Regions from separate parts of the Homo sapiens genome. Here regions 2 and 3 are each linked to region 1. The links are contacts of gene promoters, found by promoter capture Hi-C in blood cells and fetal thymus (Javierre and others, 2016). All regions are on one chromosome and are shown on one strand. The core of a region is centred on a gene start or on the middle of the fragment in contact, and the rest is flanking DNA. Distances in the headings are between cores, read along the strand shown.

The links. Contacts are between HindIII fragments. The CHiCAGO score rates a contact against its expected background, and 5 or more counts as called.
Region 2: a fragment that was not itself captured here is called in contact with the fragment with the promoter of CCDC97 in region 1 in 1 of 17 cell types (naive CD8 T cells); the score reaches 6.0 in naive CD8 T cells.
Region 3: a fragment that was not itself captured here is called in contact with the fragment with the promoter of CCDC97 in region 1 in 7 of 17 cell types (naive CD4 T cells, total CD4 T cells, naive CD8 T cells and 4 more); the score reaches 10.1 in naive CD4 T cells.

Annotation. Positions count from the first base shown.
Region 1 is chr19:41,308,313-41,311,626 of GRCh38, forward strand. It overlaps CCDC97 (coiled-coil domain containing 97), which reads left to right and starts at 1,860. Exons shown (of 5, transcript NM_052848.3): 1 at 1,860-2,044. The coding sequence starts at 1,999. LOC105372401 (a long non-coding RNA gene) reads right to left here and starts at 1,737. Exons shown (of 2, transcript XR_935968.4): 1 at 1,626-1,737; 2 at 1-1,513. RefSeq lists enhancers at 453-632, 1,906-2,195. The HindIII fragment of the contact is 19,818 bases long and covers 1-3,314 here.
Region 2 is chr19:40,640,257-40,643,570 of GRCh38, forward strand. No RefSeq gene overlaps it. Among named protein-coding and RNA genes, the nearest start is that of LTBP4, 41 kb to the left of the region's middle. The HindIII fragment of the contact is 6,260 bases long and covers 1-3,314 here.
Region 3 is chr19:40,657,392-40,660,705 of GRCh38, forward strand. No RefSeq gene overlaps it. Among named protein-coding and RNA genes, the nearest start is that of NUMBL, 32 kb to the right of the region's middle. The HindIII fragment of the contact is 1,018 bases long and covers 1,000-2,017 here.

The DNA of each region.
Region 1 (3,314 bases), core at 610-3,109:
GGAGTGAGCCAGGGTAAAAGACTCCAGATTGCATCCCCATGGCCCATCTTCCCCTTCCTTAGCAACCTTATGTCTTCGTTCCCTCATACATGCTGTGTTCCTGGCTCCTTGTGAGAGACAATGCTGGGCCACAGGAGAAGCCAATTCAGCCCCAATCTTCCCTGGTGGGAGCTCAGAGCCTTGTGAAGGGGAGATGGGCAACAAAAACAAGGGAGGGAAACTGACTAGTCTCAGAATCTCGGGTAGGGCATCAGAACGTGAGAAGGAACCAAGGTTGGTGGCTAAAAGGGACCCTAGAATGCGCCAGAGAGGAGGTGGCAGGGCCTTTAGTCTGGAAAGTCCCCTTCCCTTCATGTCCATATGCTGGGCTACAGCGCCCTCTGCTGGCCTCTCCTGGTAATGCCTAGGAATCTGGGTTGGTAAATAGGGACCTCCTTGGCTTTCTTCCACAACTCCAGACCTCAAGGGAATGCAAATGGGGAAGCTCTTCCTCTGTTCTCAGCCAGTTTTTCTCACACGTCTCATCTCCAGTCCCTTGATGCCCACTCCCTTCAGAATAAAGGAGGTCAAGCCACTTACTATGGCTTATGAGGCCCTGCATGGCCTAGCACCTGGTAACATCGCTGGCGCCCTCTCTTTCTGCTCCCCCTTTGAATATCAAATCAGTGTTTATTTTGTTCTGAGGAGCCATAAGTCCTTTTTGGAACCCACAAATGATGCCATGAACCACTGCATTGGAGAATACAGAGGTACATGGAATTTTGCATAAAAATTCATGAGGTTCTCAAAACCTCCACAGCCCAATCATGGCTTTCAAGTTAGAGCTCCTTTCCTATGCCCTGACCGTAGTGAAGTGCTTGCAGCAACCAGAACCGTCCGTACGTGCCATCCTCCTCAAGACTCTTCCCTACCTTCCTCTTAACCCAGCTCCTACTCGTTCTTCAGGTCTTAGCTTGAGGGTACCCTCCCAGAAAGAAGGCTTCCTTGACCCTCCAGCCTGGGGTGGACAGCTCCCTCAGCCCTCTGGATCCATCAAAGCCCTGGCCACTGAGTGACATGTCTGTCTACTCTGCTGGTAACACCTAAATAGAGCCCCACCCATCCCATAGGGAAATAAGGACCAGAGTTGTCTTGTTTCACACCTGTAGATTTCCTCCAGGTCCTGGGAACACAAAATGGGAAGTTCTATCTCACTATCCATCTCATGCCAGCCAGAGACAGGGTATGATGACGGAAGTAAGCCAGGCTGGTGGCTCACGCGCGTAATCCCAGCATTTTGAGAGGCTGAAGCGGGAGGATTGCTTGAGGCCAGGAGTTGGGGACTAGCCTGGGCAACAAAGTGGGACCCCTGGCTCTACAAAAAAATTTTAAAAATTAGCCGGGCGCGGTTGTGCGCGCCTGTAGTCCCAAGTACTCCAAAGGCTGAGGCAGGAGGATCACTTGAGCACAGGAATGTGAGGTTACTTGAACTGTGATCGCGCCACTGCATTCGTCTAGGCGACAAAGCGAGACCCTGTCTCAAAAAAAAAAAAAAAAAAAAGAGTCAAGGCTTAGTAATATTCCTGAATTCCTGAAGGAGTTAAGAAAGGAAAAGGACAAGCGGGGGTCTAAACGAGAGCACGAACCCTCAGCGTATGACGGCTCCAGGCTCCGGGGGAAAGTCCTTTAGCCATCCATCCCAAAATTAAGCACGCTGGGAGCTGGAGTCACAGCAGTGATAAAACGAACAATGATTCTGGTTCCTACTGACTGACAGGAGAGGTTTAAGGGTCTCTCACTCTCCGGGGAGCCCCTTTCCTTCCTGGCTGCGGAGGGCGGAGCCCGAGAGAGGCACGCATGCGCAATGCAACGTCTGCCTTAGGCCCGGAACTTCGGTGCCTGGGCGCAGCGGTGCACCCGGACCCGGAACATTCTCAGGCGAAAGTGTCTCTTGCGTGCGTGGGCCGGAGGTTAGTGTGCGGGGCCCGCCGGGCGGTTGAAAAGTCCGAGAGAATCAGGATGGAGGCCGTGGCGACGGCGACGGCGGCGAAGGAACCCGATAAGGGTGAGATCTTGGTCACGCGCAGGCGGCGGGTGGGTGCGGTTGCGGTGTCTCTAGGAAATGATTCCCCCAGGAACGCGAAGTAGGACTCGTTTTAGGGGGACACCCACCCCCCTCAGCTTTACCGGTCCTCTTCACTACTTTGCCCAGATTATTCCCTCCCTTGTCGCGGGCTGACCTTCTTTTCCTCCATTCCTTCCCCCCGAAATTAACCTCTTCCCAGTTCCAGACCAATCCTTTCCATGTCCCTAATTCATTTCCTTACCAGGCTAACTCTCAAATTAACAGAAACCTCTCTACCCCGGCCTAATTCCTGCATTGCCTCAGACCAGCCCTTCTCAAATTACCTCCTTCCCTGTACCAAGCTGAGCCTTCCCTTGCTCTCTAGACGAATCCTCCTACCTTTCCAGGCTAAACTTCTACCTGCCTCATGCAAACTTATCCCAATCTAACGATTCCTTCATTTCATTGTAACTCCCGTTTCCCCCAAAGTCCGAAATCCAGCCAGGCTCCTTTCAAAGTCCTTACTCAATTTCTGTGCTTTCCCACAACCTTCAAAGTAATCCGACGTCGGGTGAGGTGTGATTGGAAGCGTGGCTCCAACACCACTGGCCAAGAATTGGTAATTGTGGAAGCCAGATGGAGATGATTGGTATATGGAGGTAGGGGGAGAATTGTCGTTGTACTTTCTACTTTTGTGTATGTTTGAAATTTTCTAAAAATAAAAAATTTAACCTAAAAAAAGTCTTAAGGCCGGGTGCAGTGGCTCCCGCTTGTAATCCCAACACTTTGGGAGGCCAAGGCAGGAGAGTTGCTTGAGCCCAAGAGTTTGAGACCAGCCTGGGCAAGAGAGAGAAACCTGATCTCTATAAACATTTAAAAATTAGCCAGGCCTGGTGGCTAGGGAGTAGCTAGGACAAGCTACTCAGGAGACTAAGGTGGGAGTGTCACTCGAATCCTTTGAGATTGCAGTGACCTAAGATTATTACACCACTGCACTCCAGCCTCTGCAGCAGAGTGAGACTTGAGCCCAGGAGTTTGAGACCAGCACTGGCAACATAGCCAGACCCCATCTCTACAAAAAATTTAAAAATTAAGGCCGGGCCCGGTGGCTTACACCTGTAATCGCAGCACTTTGGAAGGCGGAGGCAGGAAGATCACCTCAGGTCAGGAGTTGGAGACCAGCCTAGCCAACATAGCGAAACCCCATCTCTACTAAAAATACAAATATTAGCCAGGCGTCGTGGTATGTGCCTGTAATCCCAGCTACTCG
Region 2 (3,314 bases), core at 391-2,890, 670 kb before region 1:
CAGAAGAATGGATAAACTGATCCCACAGTGGCCTGCAATGTGTGTGTGCTGCAATGAGAATAACCTGTAACTGCACACGACAACCAGGATGAATTTTTTTCACGGTGCTGACTGAAAAAAGCCAGATGCTAAAAAGAACATATTTTCAGATTGCATTTACATGAATTCAAAACAGGCACAACCAATCTATGCTGTCAGAAGTGAGGGTGATAATGACCTTGGAGGGAGGGCAGGTGATAAGGGAGCGCCGAGGGGGCTTCTGGGGGGCTGGAGATATTGCTTCTTGGGCTGGTGGCTGGTGACACAGGTGTGTTCAATCGGTGATAATTCCTCCAGCGGTTACACTTACGGTTTGTACTTTCCTGAATATGGGTCTACTTCAAGAAACCACTGCTGAAAACGAGGAGCTGCACCCACCACCCAGTGTCCCCTCCATCCAGTTTAAGCAACAGGACATTCTCAGCCCCCCGGGGTCCCTCCCTCCCAATGCAATGTGCTTTTATGTCTTCAAGGGGCCTGGCCACCACCTTGGTTGCTTCCCCCAGCTTGCTATGCATGTCACCCCACGCATGTTCCAGGCAGCTCCACAGAGGTCCCCAGAGAGAAGGCAGGCTGTGGGTGGGAGGAAGGGCAGGGGTGGGGGACGTGGCTTCCCAGCGGAGCCCGGGCAGGGGGAGGAAACATTTCTGCAACACCCCACACCAAGTCCTGACTTCGGGGGGGCTTTGCAGGGTGAATTCTAAGTGCCCAGGGCCCCATGTGAAGGGGTCAACTGTGTCTCACTCTGTGTCTGTCTCTCTGTCTGTCTCTCTTCCTGTTTCCTCCCTCCCTCCCAGTCTCTCTCTCCTCAAGAAGAAAAAAACTCACAACTATTTACATAACAATTTTATATCAGACTGTAACCCAAAAACCCAAGTTCCAACTTCGAATTTTTCAATAAACTTTGAATAAATAGTAGTGCTATTTTTCTTTCTTTTTTTTTTTAGTACTGTAATGTTTACTTTTAAATTTAATTTTTACTGGCAGACTTTACGTATATGAGGTTCAAGAAAAGAAAATCTCCACTGTTTACATTTCTTTTCTGACTATTAATATTGTTCATTTCATTTCCTGATTATTACTGGCAATAATTTTGTCCTATGGGGAAGGGAGGCGCTTGGCAGGCCTCGAGTTATCCTTTGAGACATGGGGGTCTGTGGTCAGATTTAGAAAGTGCTTGTGGGTGGCTGGGTGGGAGTGGGTCATGGGAGACATAAGGGCAGGCTGGAGTCCAGGGAGGAGGCCGGCCGGGCAGGGACCCAGGCAGCGGAGATGGACAGGGCCATGGAGAATCTGGGAGGCGCAGGCCCTGGGGACTGTGGATTGGGGAAGGAGATAATTTTATTTTATTATATTTTTTTGAGACAGAGTTTCAGTCTGTCTCCAAGACTGTAGTGCAATGGCACGATCTCTGCTCACTGCAACCTCTGCCTCCCGAGTTCAAGGGATTTTCCTGCCTCAGCCTCCCAAGTAGCTGGGATTACAGGCACGCACCCTCACACCCAGCTAATTTTTAATATTTTTGGTAGAGACGGGGTTTCACCATATTGGCCAGGCTGGTCTCATACTCCTGACCTCAAGCGATCCACCTGCCCCGGCCTCCCAAAGTGCTGGGATTACAGGCATGAGCCACGACGTCTGGCCTAATTTTTTGTATTTTTAGGAGAGACAGGGTTTTGCCATGTTGGCCAGGCTAGTCTTGAACTCCTGGCCTCAAGTGATCCGCACACCTCAACCTCCCAAAGTGCTGGGATTACAGGTGTGAGCCACTACGCCCCGCCAAGGGAAGGGGAGAATTTGAGTGCTATTGAAGGTAGAAAACACAGAACATAGGCTGGGTGTGGTGGCTCATATCTCTAATCCCAGCACTTTGGGAGGCCAAAGTGGGAGGCTGGCTTAATCCCAGGAGTTCGAGATCAGCCTGGGCAACATAGTGAGACCCCTGTCTCTACAAAAAATTAAAAATTAGCCAGGCATGGTGGCACCCACCTGTACTCCCAAGGCTACTTAGGAGGCTGAGGTGGGAGGATCGCTGGATCCCAGGAGATCTGAGGTGAGCCGTGATCATGCCACTGCACTCCAGCCTGGGCAGCAGAGTAAGACCCTGTCTCCAAAAATAAAAAATAATTTAAAATAAAGCGCGGAACACTGTCAGGTTGTCTGTGGGGGAGCAGCGGGCAGGCGACCAGGAGGGCTGGCTGCTCTGTGCAGGGCTAGTGCCTGGGTTGGGATGACTCGGCCTCAGAGCTGTAAATAAAGAAGGAAGAGGGCCGGGCGCGGTGGTTCACGCCTGTAATCCCAGCACTTTGGGAGGGCGAGGTGGACTAATCACCTGAGGTCGGGAGTTCGAGACAAGTCTGACCAACATAGAGAAATCCCATCTCTGCTAAAAATACAAAATTAGCCGGGTGTGGTGGCACATGCCTGTAATCCCAGCTACTCGGGAGGCTGAGGCAGGAGAATCGCTTGAACCCGGGAGGCAGAGATCACAGTAAGCCGAGATCACAACACTGCACTCTAGCCTGGGCAGCAAGAACAAAACTCCATCTCGAAAAAAAAAAAAAAAAAGTAGAAGAAAGAAAGAGCTGCCACAGTTGAGAGCTTCCTGGATGCCTTTGTTAACTCTTGGGGTTTTCACATACCCATCTTACAGATGGGGAAGCTGAGGCTCAGAGAGAGGAAGGCCCAAGTGGAAGAGCAAGCCTGGAGCCCAGGTCTCCTCCTGCCTAATCCTGGGCTTTTGCTGGTGGACTCCCGCCCAATCTTGAATAACTTCAGGCCTTAAACAACCTCCCACGATTGCTTTTCCTCCCATTAGAACAATAAATGCAGATACAAAAACCAACTATGCTTGTCTACAAAGCCCAAGAGAATTTTTGAAGTAATAAAACTGTCATGAATGCAGACTGTGGTGATTACATGACTTACGAATTTTTCAAAACTCAGAATCGAGCCAGATGAAATGATCCTGCCTGCAATCCCAGCACTTTGGGAGGCTATGGCAGGAGGATCATTTGAGGCCAGGAGTTCAAGACCAGCCTGGCCAACATGGTGAAACCCCGTCTCTACTAAAAATACAAAAATTAGCTGGGTGTGGAGGCACATGCCTGTAATCCCAGCTATTTCAGCAGCTAAGGCAAGAAAATTGTTTGAACCCGGAGGCTGAGGTTGCAGTGAGAAATGATCGTGCCACTGCACTGTAGACCCTGTCTCAAAAACCAAAACCAAAACCAAAAAAAGAAAAAAAAACCCTTAAGAATCAGGATTATACACGA
Region 3 (3,314 bases), core at 259-2,758, 650 kb before region 1:
GCAATGGTGCGATCTCAGTGCAAGCTCTGCCTCCCAGGTTCAAGCAATTCTCCCTGCTTCAACCTTCCAAGTAGCTGGGATTACAGGCACCCACCACCATGCCCAGCTAATTTTTGTATTTTTCAGTGGAGATAGGGTTTTGTTACGTTGGCCAGCTGGTCTTGACCTCCTGACCTCAGGTGATCCGCCTGCCTTGGCCTCCCAAAGTGCTGGATTACAGGCGTGAACCGTCACACCTGGCCTTTTGTGTTTTTGTTTTTGTTTTGGTTTGTGTGTGTGTGTTTGTTTGTTTGTTTTTGAGATGGGGTTTCACTCTGTTGCCCAGGCTGGAGTGCAGTGGTGTGATCACAGCTCACTACAGCCTCAACCTGCTAGGCTCAAGCGATCCTCCCTTCTAAGCCTCTTGAGTAGCTGAGACTGCAGGTGCCCACCACCACACCCAGCTAATTTTTGTATTTTTTGTAGAGACGGGTTTTCACCATGTTGCCCAGGCTGTTCTCAAACTCCTGGGCTCAAGTGATTCCCCCCACCTTGGCCTCCCAAAGTGCTTGGATTACAAACGTGAGCCACTGTGCTGGGCCTATTTCTTTGTGTTTTAAGAGGCAGGGTCTTTCTCTGTTGCCCAGGTGGAGTACGATGATTCGATCATAGCTCACTGCAGCCTCAAACTCCTAGGCACGGGAGACCCTCCTGCATCAGCCTCCCGAGTAGCCCAGACTACAGGTGTGTGCCACTATACCTAGCTAATGAAAAGAATTTTTTTGTAGACATGAGTTCTTGCTATGTTGTCTAGGCTGGTCTGGAACCTCCAGCCTCAGGCGATCCCCTTGCTTCAGTCTTCCAAAGCAGTGGGGTTACAGGCGTGAACCACCTGGCCTGGTCTCGCTCTTTCTCTTTCGACATCTACATTGATCTGTAGCTATCTACGTACTATAGATATCTAAAAGTTATGTAAATGTCTACTTAAGCTTATAGGTATGAGCTACTGTATGCTATCTAAGCTTATAGGTATGAGCTACAAATTGCTATTGTGTTATGAGGGGAATTCAAAAAGTTGATGGAGAATGGAATTAAGAGATAAAAATTTTAAAAAAATCTTTATTTCTCACCATAAACTCCATCAAGGTCAAAGTCAAGACACTTTTGTAAACCATTATACCAGCCATTTAGTCTATCCCTAAATAACTGAGGGTCCCAGGAATTTAATCATGTCAGTGCAGCCTTTTTACATTTTCTCTTTCTTTTTTTTTTTGATGGAATCTCACTCTGTTGCTCAGGCTGGAGTGCAGTGGTATGATCTCGGCTCACTGCAACCTCTGCCTCCCGGGTTCAAGCCATTCTCCTGCCTCAGCCTCCTGAGTAGCTGGGACTACAGGCATGTACCACCACATCTGGCTAATTTTTTTTTTTTTAGTAGAGACGAGGTTTTGCCAAGTTGGCCGGGCTGGTCTCAAACTCCTAACTTCAGGTGATCTGCCCGCCTCGGCCTCCCAAAGTGCTAGCATTACAGTTGTGAGCCACTGTGCCAGGCCTTTTTTTTTTGTTCTTGTTGCCCAGGCTGGAGTGCAGTGGCATGATCTCGGCTCACTGCAACCTCCACCTCCTGGGTTCAAGTGATTCTCCTGCCTCAGCCTCCCGACTAGCTGGGATTACAGTCATGAGCCACCACACCTGGCTAATTTTTGTATTTTTTTTTTTAGTAGAGACAGGGTTTTGCCATGTTGGTCAGGCTGGTCTTGAACTCCCAACCTCAGGTGATCCACCCTCCTTGGCCTCCCAAAATGCTAAGATTACAGGCGTGAGCCACTCCGCCCAGCCCAGTCTTTTTACATTCTTAACTGAAGAAAAATGGGTGCCCTTCAAAGATTTTAAGATTAGGAAACAAAAAGTCAGAAGGAGCCAAATTGGGACTGCCAAGTGGATGCCTAATAATTTCCCATCAAAACTTGTAAAATTGCTCGTTTGATGAGGAGAATGAGCAGAAGCGTAGACATGCTGGAGAAGAACTCTCTGGTGAAGCTTCCCAGGCTTATTTCTACTAAAGCTTCGGCTAACTTTCTCAAAACACTCTCATAATAAGCAGATCTTATTATTCTTTGACCCTACAGAAAGTCAACCAGCAAAATGCCTTGAGCATCCCCAAAAACTGTTGCTATGACCTTTGCTCTTGACCAGTGTGCTTCTGCCTTGACTGGATCACTTCCCCGCTCTTGGCAATCATTCTCTGATTACGATTTGTCTTTAGGATTGCACCCGTGAAACCATGTATCATTTCCCGTTACAATCCTTCAAGGAAATGCATTAGGATCTCGATCTCACTTGTTTAGCATGTCCATGGAAAGCTCTGCTCTTCTCTGCAGCTGATCTGGGTGCGACCGTTCTGGCACCCATCGAGTGGAAAGTTTGTTTAGCTTTAATTTCAGTCAGAATTGTGTAAGCTGAGGCCGGGTGAGGTGGCTCAAGCCTGTAATCCCAGCAGTTCGGGAGAATGAGGCAGGAGGATCACTTGTGTCCAGGAGTTCAAGACCAGCCTGGGAAACCTAATGAGACCCCCATCTCTACAAAAAATACGAAAATTTAGTGTCAGGCCTCTGAGCCCAAGCTAAGCCATCATATCGCCTGTGACCTGCACGTATACATCCAGGTGGCCTGAAGCAACTGAAGAGCCACAAAAGAAGTGAAAATAGCCTTAACTGATGACATTCCACCATTGTGATTTGTTTCTGCCCCACCCTAATGATCAATGTACTTTGTAATCTCCCCCACCCTTAAGAAGTTTCTTTGTAATTCTTCCCATCCTTGAGAATGAACTTTGTGAGATCCGCCCCCTGCCCGCAAAACATTGCTCCAAACTCCACCGCCTATCCCAAAACCTATAAGAATTAATCATAATCCCACCACCCTTTGCTGACTCTCTTTTTGGACTCAGCCTGCCTGCACCCAGGTGAAATAAACAGCCTTGTTGCTCACACAAAGCCTGTTTGGTGGTCTCTTCACAGGGACGCGTGTGACACTTAGCTGAACGTGCTGGCACGCACCTGTAGTTCCAACTACTTCGGAGGCTGAGGTGGAAGGATCGCTTGAGCCCAGGAGGTTGAGGCTGCAGTGAGCCACAATCTCACCACTGTACTCAGCCTGGGCGACAGTATGAGAACCCTGTCTCAAAAAAAAAAAAAAAAAAAAAGAAAAAAGAATTGTGTAAGCTGTACCAATTGAGATGTCTATGGTGTTGGCTATTGTTTCTGCTGTTAACTGTAAGTCCTCTTTAATTAAGGCATAAACAAATTTAATTTTTTTCTGCAAAAATTGATGTG